3 separate regions of the Homo sapiens genome follow, and all the other regions are linked to region 1. The links are contacts of gene promoters, found by promoter capture Hi-C in blood cells and fetal thymus (Javierre and others, 2016). All regions are on one chromosome and are shown on one strand. Each heading gives the region's core, a stretch centred on a gene start or on the middle of the fragment in contact. The rest is flanking DNA. Distances are from core to core; before and after follow the strand shown. Region 1 holds the start of FLNB-AS1 (FLNB antisense RNA 1). Region 2 overlaps ACOX2 (acyl-CoA oxidase 2). Region 3 overlaps SLMAP (sarcolemma associated protein).

Region 1 (2,896 bases), core at 169-2,668:
CTTCCTCAGGACTAAGCAGCAAAACCTAAAGGTCTGCCTGCCCAGACCACACTACACATTTGGGCTCAGGCAACGTCCCTGACACTTTAACCTCATTCCAAAGCCAGCTCAGGTCTGCAGGAAGGCAGGCAAAATTCCCTACACCTCATTTCTGGATTTCTGCACCACACAGCTCTCACTGTTTCTGCCAATGGTGAAAAGACCACCAATAAGCTGCTGCCCTTCTCTCCCCCAACCATTCCCAACTTTCAGGCCAAAGACCCGCAGGAGTTTCATTCTGTCCTGTCTGTACAGATCATTATTTTCCAGAAAAAGTGACCCATGAAGTTGGCTGGGGCGGGTGTGGAGTGTTATGTCATGGGACGGACCTTGGGATGAGGGCGTTAATCCATGGGCCCCTCTGAGATCACTTTAAACATTTTGGTAAGACTGCCCAGGCTGATGAAGGGCTGGAGCGTGTGTTAAAAACAAGGGCTAGTGTTGGTTAAAAGGGATCTTTGGCAAGTGGGAAACTGCTCGCCACTGCAGAATTTCTTCAGACCAAGGAAGGGACTGAAACGGACTTGGAAAACTAAAGCAAAACCATGACTGCCGGGATGGTCTCGTGTGGTGATTCTGCAAGAAATAATCACCAGAGCGAGGGGACAGGTACTTGAGAGACATGTGGGCCTGGCTGCCACTCTGCCCTCTGAGTTTCTGTAGGGTGCCCGGCTGCCACTCTGCCCTCTGAGAAGTGTAAGAAGGCCACAGAGCATGGGGGTGTTGGCGATGAGGAGCGGTAAAGCAGTGCTAGTGATCTAATAGCCAAATACATTAACACGGACACTGGAAGAGATTAAGCGGATTTTAAGTCATCTCCTTTGCCAAATGACAACCAAACTAGGTGTCCCCTTTTTCTCTGCCCATCTTCCCCTAGCCTTGTTTCATAAATGCTGAAGAGTGAACCAGCAGCTCAGGCTAGCCAGTTTTGTTTTTTTGAAATGTCAGTCTCATTGTGTTCCTGGTCTGTCTGCTGCAGTGGCTGGTCTGTTCCACCAAGAGTTCTGGTTTGCACCTAGTGTACTCAGGATCTTCTCAGCCCCCTGAACAAGCTTGCATTTCTTAAGATTCTCCAATATGTCCCTCAAGAGTCCAGTCTAGGACTTATTTCTGAAGGCATTTTACAACAGCAATATTTTAGGGATGGGGTTTCAGCCCCACAAACAGGCTGGAGGGCTTTGTATAAAATGAATTACAAACAAGCAACAAAAGCAACCACAAGAACTCTCTCCAGGATTTGAGAAAACTGTTTTAAGGCACTGTGACATGAAAAGGGCTGCCAGGGATGTGTTCCTCCCCCCACTTCACAGCCAGCACATAATCGCCCCTCTCCTTGACGACGTATGTGACGTTGTATTGCTGGTTGCCTACATGCTTCATGGAGACCTCCTCGCAGGGGGTGGTGGGCCCATGGACCCCGATCAGCAGCATGTTGGAGCCTAGGAGGCAAAAGGTGGTTACTCCACCCGGATGCATCAGGACAGGCACAGGAAGAAGAGGAAATATGAGAGCCAAAGGTAAGGTGCTTCCACGATAATGCTGGGGCCCCTAAGAGGTGGGAGAGCGTGGCAATTACAAGCAGAGGCTCATAGAGCCTGACGGTGTGGGTTCGAATCCCTGCCCTGCCACTTGCTACCTGGGTGACCTTGGACTGGAATCTCACCTCTCCCTAGCTCAGCTTCCCCATCTGTAAACAGGGAATGAGAACAGCACATACCTCACGAACTAGTTGTGAGGTTTAAGAGTTATGGGTGTCAAAACCTAGCACACAGTAAGGGCTATTCTAAGTGTTGGCTATGAGAATCTTCTTGTTTACTCTCACAAGCACCTTAAGGAAGGTACTTCCGAGAAGAGGAAACTGACTTTTGGAAAGAGATTTAATAACTTTCCAAGGTCACATGGCTAAATAAGTTTTAGAACAAACGAATGAATGAATGAAGTGGCGGTACTAGGTTTCCAGCCCAGGTGTACTGGATGCCAGAACCCAGGCAACCGACCCTTGAAACCCAAATAAATACCCAAGTTCAAAAGGCAAAAGAGAAGGAAATCATTTAAAAATATTAAGTGCAGGAGAACAGGGTCATGACGATGGTTACTTGCAAACGGCTGGCCTACATGGGGGTGGGCACTGCAGGAGACCTCAGCAGGGAAGGCCAGTGTACCCAGGGTGCCCAGCCTGCCCCTGCCCCACCCCACCCTTGAAAAGGCCCAGACACCTACCAGCTTTGCTGCAGTCCACCAGGAAGGAACTCTTCTGGCCCACAAAGGCCTTTGAGAGCCCTGCCCCCTTAGAGGTCACCTTGCTGGCGTCCGAGGATGCCTTGGGAATGGCGCTATAGCAGGTCTCTGTAGACGACCTGGTCACTGACTCCACCAGGATGGATGAGGTCTCGTTGGCTGAGCCAGGGCTAACTAGACGCTGGCCTAAGATACAGGAGGGAGGGGGACAGGCATGAATGGCCAGATCAAGAGGGGTCTCTCAGCCAGAGGACAGGCGAGTACCCTACACAGTAACCCCAGGAGAGCCCGCGCACCCCAACACAAAAGCCACCACACCTGTATCTCACACCCATAATGTCTTCTAAACCCCTAGGATCCCACCCCCATACAACTAGGATCTGGCTTTCTGGGCAAATGGATGAGTCTGGCCTTGGCTGACAAGGCCAAGGACCCTCCCAATCCCCCCACCCCCTACCCACCAAAGATGTGCCTGTGGAATTCACATCTTTCTATTGACATAAAATAGTCTATGTATAAGCAGTGTAAAAGTTTGGGATGACATATAATGAAATATCAAAAAATGATTCTGTGGATGAGAAAGGATGATTTTTCTATCTGAATTTTCTAATTTTCCTGC
Region 2 (2,896 bases), core at 218-2,717, 340 kb before region 1:
TTAAGTAGGCCAGAGAAGGCCTCCCTGGGAGGGTGACATTTAAGGAAAGACCTGAGGAGAAGGTAGGGAGAAGCTGTTGTGGCTGCTAGGGAAAGAGCATTACAGGCAGAACATAAGTACAGTCATGCATCACTTAATGACTGGAGGATCCGTTCTGAGAAATGTGTCTTCAGGTGAGTCTGTCATCATGTGAACATCACAGAGTGTACTTACACAAGCCTAAATGGTATAGCCTATTGCTCGTACAGTCACACCTGCAAAGCATGTTGCTGTTCTGAATACTGCAGCCAATTCTAACATCAATCACTAAGCAATAGGAATTTTTCAGCTCTATCATAATGTCATGGGACCGCCATCATATACATGGTCCATCATTGACCAAAACATCATTATGCAGTGCATGACAGTACAAATGTTGGAGACCAGAGTGTGCTTGGCATATCCATCCAGAGAACACAGAAGAGGCCACAGGGGCAGGAATGGCATGACTGCGGTGGAAAATGACGGCAGAGGGCAGAGAGTTAAGGGAGTACAGTAGGGGGTGGGAAGAGACGGTAAGGTAGATCATTGCAAAGACTTAAGAGAATGCGAGGGTTTTGAGCATGGGATAGAATGGGAGGGTTTTGAGCATTGGATAGACACAACCTAAAAGAATCTGATGTGTATTTTTAAAGGCTTGCTCCAGCTGCCATATTAAGAACTAAGAGTGAAAAGCAGGGAGATCAGCTGGATCGCTAATGCAATCATCCAAGTGAGTGATGATAGTGGATTGGAGCAGTGACAGTGCTGGAGGTGGTGGGAATGGTTGAAGTTTGAATATATCTTGAAGGCAGAACAGGATTTGCTGACAGATTAGATGTATGGTGAGAAAGAAGAGAAGAATCAAGGTTTTTGGTCAGAAGGGCAGAGCTGCCATTTACTATAAATGCGGAAGACTACAGGAGGCCCAGGTTTGGGCAGGGTGGACGGGAAGGAGTTTGGGTTCAGATACATTACTTTTGAAGAGCCTATCAGAAATCCAAGTACAGATGTTGGTAAGCAGGGGACACTGGAGGGATAAGTTTGGAAGTCATTGGCGTATGGTTGATATTTAAAGCCTTGAGAAGAACATCACAAGGAGTGCATGAAGAGAAGAGGTCCAAGTACTCAGTCTTGAGACCCTCGCAAGATAATAAGGAAGTAACCGTGGCAAGAGCTATTTCTGTGGAGTGGTGGGAGTAAAAACATGAACAGATCCAGTTCAGGAGAGAATGTGAAAATTGGAAATCATAAGCATAAACACACATAACACTTTCAGGGAGTTTTGTCCTAAACGGGAGCCAAGGTGATGGAGAAGGAAATAGAGTCAAAAGCTTGTGTTTAAGATGGGAGAAATGATTGTCTGTTTGTATACTGATGGAAATGATCCAGTAGAGAGGGGATTTTTTTTTCTTGTACCTTTCTTTGAACTTGATCTTGGCCTCCCATCACGCCTTGTGTTTAAGAGCAAGGTCTTTGAGGAGATCCTTGTTGATGACAGTTTGTCCAAGAGGATATCTACAGAGTACCTTGTGGGCATGAGGTGATTGCAGTTATAAGCTTTTGCAAAAGACTTGATCCTTGACCTCTTGGAGATCTTCTTGCCTATGGCAGCTGTCACTTTGTGAGGATAGCAGTCAATTCCAGCTACCAAAGCATGACTGTAAGAATGGACTGAGGTGCCATCATCAATGTCCTTCATGATAATGGCTTTGCGTCCAGAGTAGCATCCAGCCAGGACCAGCACCACTTTCCCACTTTTTCATGAACTTGCCCATTTTGACAGCAACCAGCCAGGCCTACAGTAAAAAGAAAGAAGGGCATTTCCACTAACTTTTTACCCCTGAGGGGAATTTTGATGTTGTTGGAGAAAGGCAGGAGAATGTTGTTCTCCAGTATGCAAGAGGAAAAGACATCTAGTAGACAAGGAGGGACTGAGGCCTGAGCTGAGAGCCTGAAGAGAGAAAGCATTGTATGTATAAATGCAAGGGTGGGAACTTACACAGATTCTCTTACTGCTTCCACTTCATTAGTGAAATACGATGTAAAGCCATCCAGGCAAAAGAGATGGGAAAGGTGGATAGTGTCAATCTGAGGATCAAAGAGATGGTAAGAAATAACTGCCTAAGAAAAAGAAACAGTAAATGAACAATGAGTAAATATAGCAATGTAATACGATTGCTGAGCTGCAATCAGGGCCCACTTGAGCCCTTATTACACCAGTTATGATTGTTTTTTCCAGCCATGTATAGTTACAAAGGTGGTGGCACAAAGTGGGTGGAAAACTAAAGACAAAGAGGTATGCGTTTTGCTAAACAGGTATGACAAAGCAAGAAAAATCGTTGAGTGTGTGTGTGTGTGTGTGTGTGTGTGTGTGTATATATATATATATATATATATATATATATATATATATATATATATTTTTTTTTTTTTTTTTTTTTTTTTTTTTTTTGAGCGGGAGTCTTGCTCTGTTGCCCAAGCTGGAGTGCAGCGGCACGATCTCAGCTCACTGCAACCTCTGACTCCCAGGTTCAAGCGATTCTCCCACCTCAGCCTTCCCAGTAGCTGAGACTACAGGCACACACCACCACACCTGGCTAATTTTTGTATTTTTAGTAGAGACAGGGTTCCGCCATGTTGGCCAGGCTGGTCTCGAACTCCTGACCTCAGCTGATCCATCTGCCTCGGTCTCCCAAATTGCTGGGATTACAGGTGTGAGCCATCGCGCCCGGCCTGTTGAATGTATTTTTGAGAGAGTAATAGAACATGGAATTTCAGCTGGATAAGGAATGAAGTGAGACCACAAGGGGGCAGGGGGACATTAAATTGGCGGTAGGGCTCATATGATGTTGGGGATCATCAAGAAACGATTACA
Region 3 (2,896 bases), core at 138-2,637, 280 kb after region 1:
ATATGCACATTATGTATCAATAAGATAAAAACAATAAATTAAAAAGGGAAATCAGTAATGCACAAAACTTTTCCAATAATGATAAAACATAATTTCAAGAAAATATTTTCTAATTTAGAATGCATTAAATATAAGTGATAAGATAGCAAGATATTTTAATTAAAGAAGCATTTTTTTTTTTTTTCCTAAGGCTCTACTTCAAAGTGCTGGCTATTCAACCAACTAATCTGAATAGGTATTTGGATGGTGAGGTAAAAGCTATTTTAAGGTCTGTTCTCATCTCACTTTAATAAGGTGAAAAAAATTGCCATATGTACTAAAAATAGTTCACTGTTCTGAAACTCAATGCCTGTTTGCCAAAACAATATTAATGATGCATATTCTATGCATTTTTTCCCCAAATATGGCATCTGCCGTGCACAAAATTCAGAATGGAAACCACGAGATATTTGAAATAACACCATCCTCTTACATGGTTAAAAAAGTCAAATGAATCCAGTTACTTTAATAAAATAGAATGTACTAAAATTAAGTATCTCAAACTTTTGTAACTCAATGTTTTAATTGGCCAAAAGGACTGTGAATCTAGTTTTAAATTTTATACTGGTATAGTCTAATGAAAGTTCTACTATGATAAACACATGCCACCAAATTTATTTGCCTAATTTCCCTATGTATAAAAGTGACTTGACAATATGGTGCTTTAAAACTCACTTTTCTTCTCTGACAACTGTAACAGAATTAACACAATAAACTACTTTGGGCAATTACTGGACTACTCATAAAATATAAGAAGATTCTACATTCACAAAAGTCATTAATTTTGTTTAAATCAAACTGAGATGCCAAAAATTAAGGAAATATTAAACATCATAAGAGATTTTAAAGGTACTGTAACCCCCAAAATAGAAGTGCAAGCATGTTTCACTTAAGTTGTATCACAAACGACTTACATTGTGTTTGATTAAAATTTGAGATCAAAGCTGAAATTAATGCTGGGAATGACAGAGATTGCAACAAATCTTTAATACCTAAAGAAACCTATATCAAGTACTAACATTCAAAAAACCATAAATATACATCCACTTAAAAAGACACATTCCAGTTACGATACCCTTCTTAAAACAGAAGTCTGATTATTTTATATATTATCTGATACTGTTACTGGCTTGCTATTTTGTGAGCTATAAGAAGTAAACTGATGGTTAAAATACTATAACCTTGAAAATATACACTAACCTTCATTATCCAAAAGAACTGTCAAAAAACATAGAAAAACAGAAAACAAACCTTTTGAAAGCTTTGTTTCTTCTACCGCTTTGGTTAGATGCCCTTCGACGATCAGCTTCTCTGCCAAGGAAAATAAACGTTACCATCCAAGCCCAAACTGAGCAGCATTTCCCTGAGCTGGGCAGTGTAACACATTCCATGACCAAATTTAAAGATGATAACATTACTCCTATGACCAAGCTTGAATAAAAACTTGAATCTGGAAGGGGAACTAAGAGAACTGGAACTATGACGGAGCAATCACGTTAATGCAGAAAACTAGGGGCAGGCAGACAATTTGCCTTTTATTTTCACCTTATTTTAAAAGCCTAGATATTTTTATAAAAAGGGCTCAGAAGAAATAAAGCAATCCTCTTTAGATCAAGGCTATTAAGTTAAAATAAAAGATTTATGAAAAGGTATTTATTCAAATGAAGAAGTAATAAAAATTAAGTTATATCGATAGTTTACTGTTCTCTGCTGACATAATTCAGCAGAGATGCCTATATAATGTATTTCAGTAAATGAATCATTTTAGAAAAGCTATTCAAAGAAATAAAAAAATTTTGTTTTGTTTTATGGGGGATTTTCTGTAAATGTATAATGCTACTTTTTTATAATTTAAAGTCATATTTTCATATTCCACGTTTCATTGAAGAGGATATATCTATTCTGTGTCCCCTTATTTACTCCTGTATGTCAGTTGGTCTCCTTCAATTTATTCATTTGTAATATATGTGAAGAAAATTTTCTATTCTCTTGCTTTACAACCAACTGCAACTTGGTCTACATCCACCACTCAACCATTGAAACTGCTCCAATATCATTATAGCCTCTAGTCTCCCAATGCCCATGGCTCCTTTTCTTAATTTTCATTTCTCATAGGCTCTTTGCAGTATGTGGCACTTTGTCTCTGACTTTTTAAAATCAGAAAGAGGGGCCGTGCGCAGTGGCTCACGCCTGTAATCCCAGCACTTTGGGAGGCCAAGGCGGGTGGATCACGAGGTCAGGAGACAGAGACCATCCTGGCTAACATGATGAAACCCTGTCTCTACTGGAAACACAAAAAATTAGCTGGGCATGGTGGCGGGTGCCTGTAGTCCCAGCTACTCGGGAGGCTGAGGCAGGAGAATGGTGTGAACCCAGGAGGCGGAGCTTGCAGTGAGCAGAGATGGCGCCACTGTATGACAGAGCGAGATTCCATCTCAAAAAAAAACAGAAAAAAAGAAAAAAAAACAGAAAGTAACAGATTTTGATTAAGATGTATAATGTAAGCTGTCCTACCTGTCCTCTGTCCTACTTCACTCCATTCCTAAAATTCACTTCCTACAACTTTTAGCCATTTCTTCTGATACTTACATTTATATTTCTAAATAATACATTGATTTTATTTTTCCATTTTAGATATTTATTGAGAATCTATTTTACACGGTTAAATTTTGCCATTTTCTACTACCATCCTCAAGAGTTGCATTTTGTCAATCTATAATCACTATTTTTTTTTTTTTGAGACAGTCTCACTCTGTCACCAGGCTGGAGTGCAGTGACACAATCTCAGCTCACTGCAACCTCTGCCTCCCGGGTTCAAATGATTCTCCTGCCTCGGCCTCCCAAGTAGCTGGGACTA

The links. The method cuts DNA at HindIII sites, captures the fragments that hold promoters and counts their contacts. A CHiCAGO score of 5 or more calls a contact.
Region 2: a fragment that was not itself captured here is called in contact with the fragment with the promoter of FLNB-AS1 in region 1 in 1 of 17 cell types (naive B cells); the score reaches 5.7 in naive B cells.
Region 3: a contact is called between a fragment that was not itself captured here and the fragment with the promoter of FLNB-AS1 in region 1, in 2 of 17 cell types (M1 macrophages and megakaryocytes). The highest score is 7.4, in M1 macrophages.

The regions. Positions count from the first base shown.
Region 1 is chr3:58,169,157-58,172,052 of GRCh38, reverse strand. FLNB-AS1 (FLNB antisense RNA 1) reads left to right here and starts at 1,418. Exons shown (of 2, transcript NR_135534.1): 1 at 1,418-1,556. FLNB (filamin B) reads right to left here. Exons shown (of 46, transcript NM_001457.4): 45 at 2,260-2,463; 46 at 1-1,478. The coding sequence ends at 1,291. LOC124909485 reads right to left here and starts at 276. Exons shown (of 6, transcript XM_047449435.1): 1 at 180-276. The coding sequence starts at 276. The HindIII fragment of the contact is 5,353 bases long and covers 1,094-2,896 here.
Region 2 is chr3:58,510,210-58,513,105 of GRCh38, reverse strand. All of the region lies in intron 13 of ACOX2 (acyl-CoA oxidase 2), which reads left to right. It also overlaps the pseudogene RPL27P9. Among named protein-coding and RNA genes, the nearest start is that of KCTD6, 20 kb to the right of the region's middle. The HindIII fragment of the contact is 226 bases long and covers 1,355-1,580 here.
Region 3 is chr3:57,888,495-57,891,390 of GRCh38, reverse strand. It overlaps SLMAP (sarcolemma associated protein), which reads right to left. Exons shown (of 25, transcript NM_001377540.1): 15 at 1,291-1,350. Among named protein-coding and RNA genes, the nearest start is that of FLNB, 120 kb to the left of the region's middle. The HindIII fragment of the contact is 170 bases long and covers 1,303-1,472 here.